Regions from separate parts of the Homo sapiens genome. Here region 2 is linked to region 1. Evidence: promoter capture Hi-C in 16 types of primary human blood cells and fetal thymus (Javierre and others, 2016). All regions are on one chromosome and are shown on one strand. The core of a region is centred on a gene start or on the middle of the fragment in contact, and the rest is flanking DNA. Distances in the headings are between cores, read along the strand shown. Region 1 holds the start of CACNA1C-AS1 (CACNA1C antisense RNA 1). Region 2 holds the start of RBM19 (RNA binding motif protein 19).

Region 1 (7,272 bases), core at 3,104-5,603:
AGCTGAGACAGTGAAATCCAAGATGCCAGGACCAAACATGCCTTAGTATCTTTGAACTTCAGTGTTATCTAAGGCCAGTCTATTAACCCCAGGCAAACTGAGGTCTAAACCTGGGTTTCCCAACATTCTGACCTTATTAAAGTTATACTCTTTTATAGCATGGACCTATGTTTTAAATAGACCTATGCTTTGTACCCAAAGGCATTCAACTGCCAATCAAAAGTCATAATCAGCATGAGATGGCCAGTGTGGCCTGGCTGAGTTGATAGTACTTCAGCTCCAAAAAATAAACAGGTTTTCTTAGCCTGTGTGGTGTTGTCTTCCACTGGGCTTTCTGAAATAATGAATATGGCCTTACACTTTTCTCAGATTCCCAGGGACCCAGGAGCCCCAGGCTGAGGACCACCATGGGCAGGGGCAGGAGGTGGAAGGATGTGGGGACACTGTGTGTGCTATCTTAAAAGATTTCTAGAAGTCGATTTCACCTATCTGTTCTTGTCGTACTGGTAGGCACGAAACTCTCCTCTTCATCTCTTTCTCCTCCTGTACTCTGTGACCCTAGAGGTGGTCTTTCCCCACCACAGTGTCGCTCTCTCCCGGGAGCACATCCCATCAGAGCAGCTCACCCTGCAGAGCCTCTGCCCTGGCAGGTTGTCATGGCAACAGCCAGACAGGCCTGGTCCCTACCCTCAGGATGCTCAAGAATATTCAGGGACAGAGGGCGTACCGTGTGACTTTTTTTTTTTTTTTTTTGAGACAGAGTTTTGCTCTTGTTGCCCAGGCTGGAGTGCAATGGCACGATCTCGGCTCACCACAACCTCCACCTCCCGGGTTCAAGTGATTCTCCTGCCTCAGCCTCCCAAGTAGCTGGGATTACAGGCATGCACCACCATGCCTGGCTAATTTTGCATTTGTAGTAGAGACTGGGTTACTCCGTGTTGGTCAGGCTGGTCTTGAACTCCCGACCTCAGGTGATCTGCCCGCCTTGGCCTCCCAAAGTCCTGGGATTACAGGCATGAGCCACTGCTCCCAGCCCTGAATCTTTTAATCACAATACAGCACCGGATTTAACAATGGCTCAAAGACAACCTGAGCTAGAGACTGGCAGGGCATTATGAATGGCCCCATTAACTGTGAGAACTAAAACCACAAATACTGGTTTTCCCAACTCTTTGTGAGGTGCACAGCGCTTCTTCACAGACCTCATTGCGCTTGAGCCTCACACCAGCCCCACAGGGCAGATGGATAGACAGCATTCGTTTTCTGGCTTTACAGACATGCAGGCCTCACCCTGCTCTCCATTCTATTGAGGACAAAACCAAGAGCGAGAGAATGCACAGCTGACAGGTGACCAGGCCAGGGCTAAAAGCAGGTTACCACGACTTCACCCAATCCCAGCTTTCAGAAGTTACAGGAGAAAGAGATCACTTCAGACCCAGATGATCCTAAGATGTATTTTGAGATAGTTGAAAGTCATGCCAGGTTGAGATAGGACCGACAGGGGAAAATAATGGCATGGGAATACCAGGCAGGTGGAGCTAGCTGGACACAGCAGCTGCAAAGCAGTGCTTGCTCAGAAGCAGGGGCCTGCCTTGTTTGGGGTCGGCCACTCCTATTAACTCACACTCCTTGTGTGTCCGCAGGCATTGGCAGTGGCAGGCCTGAGCCCCCTCCTCCAGAGAAGCCATTCCCCTGCCTCATTCCCTAGGCCTTTTGCCACCCCACCAGCCACACCTGGCAGCCGAGGCTGGCCCCCACAGCCCGTCCCCACCCTGCGGCTTGAGGGGGTCGAGTCCAGTGAGAAACTCAACAGCAGCTTCCCATCCATCCACTGCGGCTCCTGGGCTGAGACCACCCCCGGTGGCGGGGGCAGCAGCGCCGCCCGGAGAGTCCGGCCCGTCTCCCTCATGGTGCCCAGCCAGGCTGGGGCCCCAGGGAGGCAGTTCCACGGCAGTGCCAGCAGCCTGGTGGAAGCGGTAGGTGACTCGCAGATGGGCAGGGGGGAGAGGCCACGGGCAACAAGGGGACTTGGCATGCGGGGCTGAGAAGGGAGCACCTGGCTCTTGCCAAATTCATTGCAGTCAATATCTGAGCCCGAAAGACCCTCCCTCTCAGGGCTGCAGGAGGGCTCGTGTGCGGAAAGCCATGACTGCACAAGATGCTATGGGCTCTCTTGAGGCTGGGCCCACTGCAGAGGGCGGCAGAAACCACTGAGCAACTTATCCCTTATACTGCAGCTGCTCGACATGCAAATGTGAGCCTGGCTGCCTTTATACACAGACAGGCAAGATCCAAGGTGCTCAGGCCTGACTGCCCGTGAGCATCACCTGGGGAGCTTTGGAAACCCGGGACAGATTAACTGATGATTGTTAAAGCTCTTCGATGATTTTAACGTGTAGCAAGGTTGAGAGCCACTAGCCTAGAACAAGCGAGCTTTCAGTCCCACTGTGCTCTGCCTGGTCAGAGCATCTAGTGCAATCCCGGCACCACATTATTAGGGACCTTTGACACACTGGAACAAACCCAACAGAGGATGACCAGGATGGCAAGGTTCCTAGAAACCATTTCCTAGGAGAACCGTTTCAGGGAATTCGGGAAGAAAACCTGGAGAGGAGGTGACTTTGGAGGGTGCGATACACCTCTCACACCTGCAACGGGTGGGATGGGGAAAGGGTGGCAGGCTCAGCCCACCAGCGGACAGATTTCAGCTCACATGGGGAAGACCTTCCCAAATGAGCTCTTCCAAGATGAGAGGGGCTTGCCTGAAAGGTAGTGAGCCCCCCATCATCAGACATAGCCAAGCAGAGACTGTGCTCATCCGGGCGTCAGGCTGTGGTGCAGGAGGTGGGGCGTTAAACCAGGTGGCTTCCAAGGTTTACCTCTCAAAGTCTGGTATTCCTGTGGCCTCGATCATCCTGCATTCATTTCACAGACCTTCCCTGAGCGCCTACCATGTGCAGGCCCTGTTCTAGGTACAGGGACACAGCTGAGAAACAGAGCTTCTGCTCTCATGAGCTCACATCATGGTGAGGAGAGACAGATAATAAACACATACATATATAACACATCAGGAAGGTCAGGAGTGCCAAAGAAAAACTAAGCAGGGCAAGGAGAGAATGAGTGGCGTGGGCAAGGAGCAAGACAAACAGATGCCTGAAAGGAGCGAGTGCCAGGCTGCACTCAGCTTCCCCCGACCCGCTGGCTCAGGAGCCGATTTTCCCATAGCCAGGCACTAAGCAGCCGGTAGGGAGGACAGAGAAGCTTAAGGGTCACCTGCTGGCCCTTCCCAGCAGAAGCAAGGCAGGGGCATGCGCCGTGTTTGCACAGATACCTCACCCCTGGAAAGGCAGCAGCAGGCAATGGGCAGTGGGCCTGTCTCAGCAGTTTCACCAGGGAGAATGGTTTCTCTGAAAGAATAGTATAAAGGTTCAGTGGGTGTCAGAAAGGAGAGAGGCAGGCTGGGATCTGCTGATACAGCATCAGGGCAACCCCCCGGCCCCTCTGAGAGCCAAACCTTCTCTGGTTTTTGTTTTGGTTGTTTTTTGAGACAGGGTCTCGCTCTGTCACCCAGGCTGGAGTGTAGTGGTACAATCACAGCTCAGTGCAGCCTGGCGCTGCTGGGGTCAAATGATCCTCCCACCTCAGTCTCTGGCCTTGCTAAGATCACAGGTGTGCATCACCACACCCAGCTAATTATTCTTAAATTTTTTGTAGAGACGAAGTTTCCCTGTGTTGCCTGGGCCTGGTCTCGAACTCCTGGGCTCAAGCAGTCCTTCTGCCTGGGCTTCCCAAAGTGCTGGGTGACAGGTGTGAGCCACCGTGCTGGGCCATAAGCAAGTCTTCATATATTTGATGACAGTGTTTGACCACCCCAGCCAAAACTTCTCTGGCCTGCACATCCCTAATTCTGGCAGATGCTCCATCTCCACTTGTTCCCCATGGGTGCCCCTCCCAACACACACACGTACACGTGCACACACGCACACTTCCCCAAGTGACCTACCAGATACCCCCTCGCTCTAGCCCTCAAGGGAAGAGCTGGGCTCCAGGAGTAATGTTCCTTTGGTTCTTCATGGCTCCCACCCCGCTCCTTCAGGTCTTGATTTCAGAAGGACTGGGGCAGTTTGCTCAAGATCCCAAGTTCATCGAGGTCACCACCCAGGAGCTGGCCGACGCCTGCGACATGACCATAGAGGAGATGGAGAGCGCGGCCGACAACATCCTCAGCGGGGGCGCCCCACAGAGCCCCAATGGCGCCCTCTTACCCTTTGTGAACTGCAGGGACGCGGGGCAGGACCGAGCCGGGGGCGAAGAGGACGCGGGCTGTGTGCGCGCGCGGGGTCGACCGAGTGAGGAGGAGCTCCAGGACAGCAGGGTCTACGTCAGCAGCCTGTAGTGGGCGCTGCCAGATGCGGGCTTTTTTTTATTTGTTTCAATGTTCCTAATGGGTTCGTTTCAGAAGTGCCTCACTGTTCTCGTGACCTGGAGTTAACCGGAACAGCGTCTTCATTCATTTCTGTTGGGACCAGACGCGGAGCCTGGGTGCGCGAGCCGCCCTCCGGGAGGAAGGCGCCCGGCTGCGTCTGCAGAGGCGGGGAGAGGAGGCGGCGAGGGTCCCGGGGCGCGAGGAAGGCGCCTGCCCTCTCCCAGCTCGCAGGCCCCGGGCCCGGCCGCGCCTCCGCGGGGAGAGCACCCCGGCTTCCCGCGCGCCCTCACCAAAAGGACCCTACAGCAAACGGGTGTCTTTCGACTCTGCTTGTAGAAACCATTTGCACATATTCTGTACGAGCCTCGCTGTCTCCCTAGAGCCAGGGCCCTGCGGATTTGGAGAAGGGAGCGGGGCAGGACTTCCAGGAGGACCCCAACCCGGCCCGGAGAGGGAGGAGGAGGCCTCCAGGGGCGCGGAGCTCTGGGGATGGGCGTCGGGCCGGCAGTGGTGCGGCTCACTCCGTCCCTGCCCACCTGCGACGGGATCCCCCGACCGGCACGGGCCACGCCGAGCTCCCGGCCAGCCGCCGGCCCGCAGGCAGCGCGAGGGAGGAGCTGCGCCGCCGGCTCCGCCCAACCAGGTGGTGCTGAGCTTCCGCTGAGCGCTCTTTTGTTTTGTGGTTTGACACTTTTCTTGACAGCATGTTGCAGTTTCTTTTCGGTTTTGGTTTTTTTTAAATGTTTTATTTTGCTTTCCCAGCGGGAGGGGAGGAAGAAGAGTGTTTACAAAGTCCTGTAGCCCCCTCACCTTTCTGTTTTCACTTTTGCCAATGTACATCGGGTTTGGTTTTCTTGTATTATTTAAACGGTTGTGGTTTCCTTTTTCCACGGAGGTTCAATAGAAGCCGCTGCAGGAGAGTTTTACCAACCATTGTGTATGCCCAATAATTTGTTATCATTTCCTTAGGTAGTAACCTATTTTTGTTCTGGTTTGGTTCGGTTATCTAATGGAAAGGTAACTGGCAATGCACTTGATGTGGTCTTGCACATGTGGGTGATAGAGTTGGGTTCCTTTTTATGCTGGGTGTACAGGTGGGTTTGGGAGAGAGGAGCATGCGCGAGAGAGTCTCCGAGTGTGTGCGACGCGTGTGTGTGTGGTGGGTTGTCTGTGTGCATATGTCCTGCCCGTGTATATGCACCCACACCATGTGCCCGTGCACACCAGTGACTACGCAGTCCCCCCTTTCTGGTTTAGCTGTGGGAAGATCTGAATCTGGGGCCGTTTGAAAGCAAAAACAAACCACTGTCTCTGCTTCTGAAACGGGAATCAGTAACTCTTTGCATTTTCTGTCCCACAAGATATGCAAAAACAATGCAATAATATTCATTTAAAAATACAATTGTGAGTTGTGTTGGCATTAAAACTGTATTTTAAAAAAAGACAGAAATTTAAGGGAAAAACACAAGAAGGCATTTTGCTTCAATATATTCCGTGTAATGTTTTATTGCATTGATAATGTTTCTGTTGAAGAAACCGTTATACTTGAATTCAGGTCAGTTTCAGTATTTTTCAAATATTTTTTTAAAACTGAATTGCAATTGTGCCAAGCGAATATAATGAATTGAATTAAGTTGGTTTTCGGATTCACTTCTTGTATATTTTGCTGCATGTAAAGTAAATCATTTTGTATTTGGAGTGTGACAAGCTTTACCTTTGAACTCAAGTGCTTTTCTATATGTGGTTGGGGGAAAGGGAACAAGTTTTCTTTAGTTTGCACAATGAGCAAAGGTATCACCAGTGTAGTCATTATTCTGCTCTCCACAAACAGGTTTGGACATTACTGTTTTGCATATCTTGTGTTTGCTTACATTTCCCTCAATTTTTCCAAAATCGTTTGCTGGGTATGTTTGTACCGCCTCTTGCTGTGAGAGACCAGGACCTATTTTATTCCAGTCTTCACTCTGTCCACTCTGCTCTGGTCATCTGATTTGGTACTTCTCCAAGAACAGCCCTTCACTGTGAGGTGCAGGGAGGCGTTCTGATGAGCCCTCAGTCACTGGGCCGTCATCCGCATCCCCCATGGAAGAGGTAGCTGGCTTTCCCTTCCCTTCCACCACACGGAATTTTCTCTTTGGCTTCCTTAGGAAAGTGTACACTAACCGGGAGGATAAAATTAAAGTCAGGCTGCTTGGAGGGAGGGGCATCCTCACTTCCGGATTCTTGTTGCTCTACCCAACAAGGACAGCAGGGGCTCGAGAAAGGAACTGGTGAAACCCTGATCCATCTGAAAGTCAACTCTGCGTGCTCCTTTCTCCATCCCTTCCTCACTCTGGAGCAGCCTTTCCTTCAGGCTTGCCCTAATGTTTGGGCTGCCGGGGAGGGGGCCAGGACAAGGGAAGAGGCATCCGGAGCTCACAGTGGGGGTGGGAACAGATTTTTGTGGGGGCATCTCTAATGCTCACTTATATCTCCCTAGAACATCACTCTTTTGGTGCTGTGTCCTTCAAATGTATGTCAACAGTGGTGGCTGAAAAGGGACTGCTTTGGGGAAAACAGGACCCAACCATTCACCCAGAATTGACCCATTAAATCTCTTCCAGTCCTAGTGTTCCCTGAGCCCCTCTTGGCACATATATAAGTAAGCTAGAAATTACAATAAGGGACAGTCCATTCCTCTATGACAGCTTGCTGGACTGATTCATGACAAAGTGGAGAAATGTACTCAATACTCCCCGGTTAACACAGTCTAGAAACAGAGTTTCTTTATGGATATCCACACCCAAGTCATCCAAACTTTCTTGATTCCTTTTCACTGCCATCAAGGTCCTCTAGAAATTGAGTTT
Region 2 (7,272 bases), core at 1-2,500, about 110 Mb after region 1:
AACTTGTCCAACATGGCGAAACCCCATGTCTCTACTAAAAATAAAAAAATTAGTCGGGCTTGGTGGCGCGTGTCTGTAGTCCCAGCTACTTGGGAGGCTGAGGCAGGAGCATCGCTAGAACCCGGGAGGCAAAAGTTGCAGTGAGCCGAGACTGCCGAGATTGCTCCACCGCAGTCCAGCCTGGGAGACAGAGCCAGACTCCGTTTAAAAAAAAAAAACAAAAAAAGAAAAAAACAAAAAACAAAACCAAAAAAAGCCATGAAAGAGAGAGAAAAAAAAGAGATAAGACAAACAATGATAAGAGAATCAACTACACTTGAAACACAACAAAGCTGAATTTGGGAGGGAAAGGAAGTGCAGCTACGCTAAAAATCCTCATCCCACAAAGCGAGGCATCAAGAGACACTGTCTAACCTGATGGAAGGAGCAGTAATCCATTTAAAAACAAAAAAACAAAACAGAACAAAAAACAGCGAGAGAGAGAAAAAAGGATGATCCATTCGAGCCCACCGCATCTAATCATCTAATATTACGTACATTCACCTATTTTGCCTACCACGTGTCGGGTTCTGCGCTGGGCTCCAGGGAAACAAAAAAGTATGGCTGGGTCACCACTCCCCACTTACTGGATAAATGCTGTAAAGCCCTTTACCCACTCCGTATTCCTACTTGCCCTAAGGATGGGAGTGGGAATTGGAACGCAGGTCCGCAGATTAATATTCCCCATGTCTTCCCCAACAGTTTCCAGACTGGGAGAGGAATATAAATACAGTGTCGGACCATGTCCCGGGTCAACAACTAAAAAACAGTGATCGAATGAAAGAGGTTGTGGGAGCAGGGTATTCGCCACAAGGTGGGAGTTGTCATCTCCCCGAGAAGAGGTGTGTTAGGAGTCAGGTACCAAACAACCGGCCGTGAAACCGTAAGCAGTCACTATTCCTCTTTCCTCGGGATCAAATGGGGATAAGCCCAGGATCCCGCCCCCTTTGAGTTCAGAATTGGCCCGGAGTCCTGCCCCAGAGCAAAAATTCTTCGATCACCTCCAGGCATCTCTTCCCTACCTCACAGCTCCCGGCTGGTCTCATTTCAGATTCCCAAGTCCTGCCTCTGCACTCACCCCATTCGGGAGATTCTTCACGATCAGTCGCGACATGGCGCAGGGTCCCCGCTGTTTTGATTCCAACACGACTGGTCAGCGTCTTCCACCAAGTTTCACGCTACCGCCCTGGGCGCCGCCATCTTTACCGAGCCGGAACACAGTCACGTGGCTGAGACCTTGGCCTGACCTGTCCGGAAGTAGGCGTGGCTAATCCAAAACTACTCAGGGAGGTCACACCCCACAAGGGGTGGGCCTGGGCGCTTGCATTTTGCGCAGGCGCAGGGCCTTGGGCGGATTCTGTGAGACGCCAATGCAGCGGAGAAGGCGGCAGGGGGCGCCGGTCCCTAACATGCGCCGGTTTAGCTCGGTGTTAAGGGTCGCGCCAACCGGGCAATCGCGTTCTCTCCTTTTTCTTATTTTATTTTTATTATTGAGCCTTAGGACTCCCCTGAGAACGGGGGCAAGATTAGGGACCCTTGCCTTCCTCGTAGAAATGGGGAAAGTGAAGTTTAGAGAGATTGCCAGCCAACACAAATCAAGTATTGAGCCTTTTGTGTAAATACTTGGAATGAACATGTTGGAAATAAACGCTCTCATTTTGCAGGCAGATAAACTGGGAATCGTGCGTGTAAAGCAGCTTGCTCAAAGTCTTATAACTATGAATTGGAAAGTCAGATTCGAGCTAGGGACTGCCTAGGGCCCTACAATGAGTCTCTACGCCTTCAACCCCAGCCCCACAAGCATTTTGCCTCCCTTCCTAATGTTTGGAACTCTCAGCTGGCCAATCTTCTAGCTGAGAGATCTTGGCCAAAATGGCCTCTGAGCCTTTGTGTCTACTTCTATAAAATGGGAATAATTCTTTATTATGCTAGGGGTTAAGGAGGTGAGAACGTGAAAGGGATGTTATTTTCCTATTGCTTCTCTGAGCATTCTCGGTACCTACTCTTGGATGGAGACATCCTATGAAAACCCCTATTTTCACTCTTAAATGACGGTATTTCCTTTCTGTTTCCCCACAGTGCCTCAGCTGCACTGGACGTTGCTGCCAAGCTTCTGCAATTTCCTTCACCTAAAAGACATTCCGTCCCCCCTTCTTATTGTTAACAGCTTTATCACAAACCATGCAATTCACCCACTTAAAGTGCACAATTCAATGGTGCTGACTATATTTACAGAGGTGTGCAGCCATCACCACAATCAATGCTAGGACATTTTCATTACCCCCAAAGAAACACCACACCCTTTAGCTATAACCTTCCAATTCCTCCCTCTCCCTTCCCTCTGATAACCACTAATCTACTTTCCGTCTCTATGGATTTGTCTGTTATGGACATTTCATGTAAATGGAATAATACAATATGTAGTCTTTTGTAATTGACTTCTTTCACTTAGCATAATGTTTTCAAAGTTCTTCCATGTTGCAGCATGAATCAGCACTTTATTTATCTGTTTATTTATTTGAGACAGGGTCGGGCTCTGTCACCCCGACTGGAGTGCAGTGGCACAATCTCAGCTCACTGCAACCTCCGCCTCCCAGGCTCAAGCCATCCTCCCACCTCAGCCTCCTGAGCAGCTGGGACTACAGGCACATGCCACCATGCCTGGCTAATTTTTTTTTTTTGGTAATTTTTTGGTAGAGGCGAGGTTTCAACATGTTGCCCAGGCTGGTCTTGAACTCCTGGGCTCAAGCAATCCACCTGCCTTGAACTTTCAAAGTGCTGGGATTACAGACGTGAGCCACCACACTTTTTTTGCTGAATAGTATTACATATATGGATGTATTACATTTTATTTATTCATCAGTTGATGATGGACATTTGGGTTGTTTCCGCTTTGTGGCTACTGTGAATAATCTTGCCGTGAACATTTACCTGTAAGTTCCTGTGTGGGCATATGTTCTTATTTCTCTTGGATATATTCCTAGGAGTAGGATTGCCTGATCATATGGTAACTCTATGCTTAACCTTTTTAGAACCTGCTAACCTGTTATCCAAAGTGGCTTCCCCATTTTATATTCCTACCAGCGGTATATGAAGGTTCAAATATCTCCACATCTCCTCCAGTGTTTGTTATTGGGTCTTTATAATCATAGCCACTCTAGTGGGTGTACAGTGGTGACTCAATGTTTTGATTTGCATTTCCCCGATAACTAATGAAACAGCATCTTTCATGTGCTTTTGGCCACTGGAATATCTTTCTGAACCCATTCCCATCCCCTCTCTAAGACCAGCTCAAACATGGCATCCTCGAATATGCCTCTTTCCTACTGAGCCCCAAATGCAGGGAGCTCATGCATCTGCCACAGCATAAACCTACAGAACTCGCTGGTGAGGAGCGCACAGTGTAGGTTCAGAGTTATAGATGAGGCCACTTGTTCTTTCTACATTATGTTGCCATAGGGGCATCCTTAGATCCATCTTTGCAAAGCATCACACTGGGCACCAGGAGGAGACAGGTAATAGGAGTTCATTAAATGCTAATTGTAAATTAAGGTCTGTCCATTCAACAGAATTCTATGCAGTTGTTAAAAAACGGTAGGTATGTAGCTATAAATGTTTTTGAAGGAAATGCATCAGTCAGCAGGACACAGAGGTATACTCAAAAGGATTTAACAAAAGCAAATCTGGACAAAAAGCTATTTACAGAAGGGTGGGCAGTGTAGTGGGATGAATGATCCCCTGTCCCCTCACCACCACACACACTGGGGGCATCCTGACCCCTGGAAGCTGTAAATGTGACTTTATTTGCAAAAAAGTGTTGTATTAGTTTGTTCTCACGCTGCTAATGAAGACATACCTGAGACTGGGTAATTTATAAAGGAAAGAGATTTAATGGACTCACAGTTCCACATGGCTGGGGAGGCCTCACAATCATGGTGGAAGAGCAAGGGATGTCTTACCTGGTGGCAGGCAAAGAGAGAATGAGAACCAAGTGAAAGGCTTTCCCCTTATAAAACCATCAGATCTCGTGAGACTTATTCACTACCACGAAAACAGTATGGGGAAACCACCCCCATAATTCAATTATCTCCCACTGGGTCCCTCCCAGGACACGTGGGGATTATGGGAGCTACAATTCAAGATGAGATTTGGTGGGGACACAGCCAAACCATATCAAGGGTCTTTGCAAATGTACTTAAGGGTCTCAAAATGAGATCATCCTGAATTATCCTGGTAGACCCTAAATCCAATGACACATGTCCTTTTAAAGGACACACAGAGAACGTCATGTGTAGGTGGAGGTAGAGTCTGGAGTGATGCAGTCACAAGTCAACGAAGACCTGGAGCCACCAGAAGCTGAAAGAAGCAAGGAAGCGTTCTCCCTTGGAGGTTTTGGAGGGAGCATGGCCCTGCTGGTGCTTTGGGGGATTCTGGCCTCCAGAAATGTGAGAGAATAACTTTGCATTGTTATGCCATCTAATTTGTGGTAATTTGAGACAGCACCTGCAGCAAATGAATACAGGAAGGGTTAAGGGAACCAACAAAGGATGGCCAAACCCCAGGGCCTGGCAACAGTGGGGAGCTATCACCACCCCTGGGGCTGAAGGGCAGAGTAGGACATGTCATTCCTGAGCTTCAGTGATGCCAGGAGCCATGGAAGAGGGACGTACTTTAAGGACTAGAGCTATAGAGAGATACAGCCACTGTGGAACCACAGGTGTGTGTGTGTCGGGGATAAATACACTGTCCCCTCTTTCTCTTCCCAACTGCAGTTTCCTACTGGAGCCTCCCCTTGGCCGAACCAATGGGAAGCTGGAGGCATGATCACAGATGTTGCAGTGCACACAGATTGCATCTGGGGCACAGAGCAAAGTGGAGGAGCAGGCTCAGGGAATGGGAGATGGGCTGTTAGAGAAGAACTAGCACATGGGACATGGGACAATCTCCAAAATATATTGTTAAGTGAAAACCAGCAATATACTAAATAATGTATTATGTATGCTTTCACTTAGGTAAAAACAAAACACACACACAAAAAAAGGAGGGAGATGGGTGAGGATACATAGATACTTGTCATGTTTGTAGGCCAGGGTAGTCGTAAATTTCCAAATGTATTGTCTTGCAGTTCTGAAGGCTAGAAGTTCGAGATGAAGGTGTTGGCAGCGCCGGTTCCTTCTGAGAGCCGTGAGGTTGAATCTGTTCCTCCCTGTCTCACTTCTGGTGGTGTGCTGGCAATCTTTGACACTCTTTGGCCTGTAGACATGTCACCCCGATCTCAGCCTTCATCTCCACATGACAGTCTCCCTGTGTCCATGAGTTCATGTTCAAACTTCCCCATTTTAAAAGACATTGGATTAAAGCTAATTCTAATGACCTCATTTTAATATAGTTACCTCTGTAAACACTCTATTTCCAAATAACATCACTTTGTGAGGTATGAAAAGTTAAGACTCCAACATAGGAATTTGGAGGGGACACTATATATGATTTATGTAAGCAAAGGCGATCTCAAAAGATACATGAGGAAGTGGTAACAGCAGTTGCTTCTGGGGAGGGGACCGAGGAAGTGAGTATACGGATGGATGGAAATGTCCTTTACCTTGAGTAACCTTTTATAATTTTGATATTTCATTATGAAAAAATTACCTATTATTTTTAATACATTAAAATGTTAATCATGTATAAACTACATCTGCATATATTTATACTTAACCATAGGGTAAAGTCAACAAGCATGTATATTAATTGTGGGCATTTCTGCAGGATGGCTTTGGAGGGGTGAAATTGTAGGGAGCCCAGTAAATCTTTATGTATTTATTTTGGGTTTTGTCTTTTTTTTTTTTTGAGACGGTAACTGGGATTATAGGTGCACACCACCGTGCCTGGCTAATTGTTTGTATTTTTATTACAGATGGGTTTCACTGTGTTGGCCAGGCTGGTCTCAAATTCCAGACCTCAAGTGATCCACCTGCCTTGGCCTCCCAAAGTGCTTGGATTACAGGCATGAGTGACTGTGTCTGGCCTTTTTTTTTTTTTTTTTTTTTTTTTTGAGACAAGGTCTTGCTCTGTTGCCCAGACTGGAGTGCTGTGGTGTGATCAGGCCTTACTGCTGCCTTGATCTCCTGAGCACAAGTGATCCTCCTTCCTCAGCCTCCGAAGTGGGTGGGACTACATGCATGCATTACCACACCCAGCTAATTTTTAAATTTTTTGTAGAGACAGGGTCTGGCTTTGTTGCCCAGGCTGGTCTCAAATTTCTGGGCTCAAGTGATCCTCTCGCTTTGGCCTCCCAAAGTGCTGGGATCACAGGTGCACGCCACCATGCCCGGTCTGTATATGTTTTAAATCAGAGATTGGCAAACTTTTTCTTAAAAAGTCAGAGAGTATTTCACTATGTGGTCTCTAATGCAACTTCTGCATCCTGCTACTGTATTTTGAACACATCCAGAGCTAACATCTGTGGCCGTGTTCCAATAAAACTTTATTTACAAAACCAGGAAGCCACCCCATGAGCTATAGTTTTAAGTTACAGGATTATGGGGTGTATTGATTTTCTAGGGCTTCTATATCAAATTACCAGAAACTGGATGGCTTCAAACAACAGAAGTGTATTCTCTTGCAGTTCTGGAGGCCAGGAATTTAAAATCAAGGTGTCAGCAGCGCAGTGGTCTCTCCAAAGGCTCAAAGTGGAAGGATCCTTTTTTGTCTCCTCCAGTTTCTGGTGGCGGTAGGTATTCCTTGGCTTGTGGCTGCATAGCGTCCGTCTCTGCCTCTGTTTTCACATGACCTTCTCCACTCTGGTGTCTGAGTCAAATCCACCTCCCTATGCTTCCTCTTAGCAGGACACCTGCCATTAAGCTTAGGACCCACTGTAACTCCAGGTCAATCTCATCTTGAGATCCATAGGTGATTATATCTGCATAGACCCTTTTTCCAAAAAGAGTCACATTCACAGGTTTTGAGGATTAGGATGTAGGCATATCTTTTGGGGGCTGCTGTTCGACCCATGAGATCTGCTTGCTTTGTAGTAGTCTACTCTGAAGATCAGATTTCACCCTCTCTCTGTCTTGTGTAGACTGTCTATTCAATTAAAACACATATGCATGTAAAAATGTACCCTCAAGCCTGGAGTCGATGACTTACGGGTCACTGTGTTTCAAAGTCAACAGATATTTATTGTTATGTCTTTAATTAAATAATAACTGGAGGGTTGTTTCCTGCACACTGTGATAT

The links. The method cuts DNA at HindIII sites, captures the fragments that hold promoters and counts their contacts. A CHiCAGO score of 5 or more calls a contact.
Region 2: a contact is called between the fragment with the promoter of RBM19 here and the fragment with the promoter of CACNA1C-AS1 in region 1, in 1 of 17 cell types (naive CD4 T cells). The highest score is 8.1, in naive CD4 T cells.

The regions. Positions count from the first base shown.
Region 1 is chr12:2,686,804-2,694,075 of GRCh38, forward strand. CACNA1C-AS1 (CACNA1C antisense RNA 1) reads right to left here and starts at 4,354. Exons shown (of 4, transcript NR_045725.1): 1 at 4,266-4,354; 2 at 4,004-4,176; 3 at 3,337-3,407. CACNA1C (calcium voltage-gated channel subunit alpha1 C) reads left to right here. Exons shown (of 47, transcript NM_000719.7): 46 at 1,644-1,976; 47 at 4,097-7,272. The coding sequence ends at 4,396. RefSeq lists a silencer at 4,814-5,083. The HindIII fragment of the contact is 2,873 bases long and covers 3,260-6,132 here.
Region 2 is chr12:113,965,075-113,972,346 of GRCh38, forward strand. RBM19 (RNA binding motif protein 19) reads right to left here and starts at 1,251. Exons shown (of 24, transcript NM_016196.4): 1 at 1,118-1,251. The coding sequence starts at 1,153. RefSeq lists enhancers at 1-601, 602-1,529, 1,488-1,557. The HindIII fragment of the contact is 5,534 bases long and covers 1-2,147 here.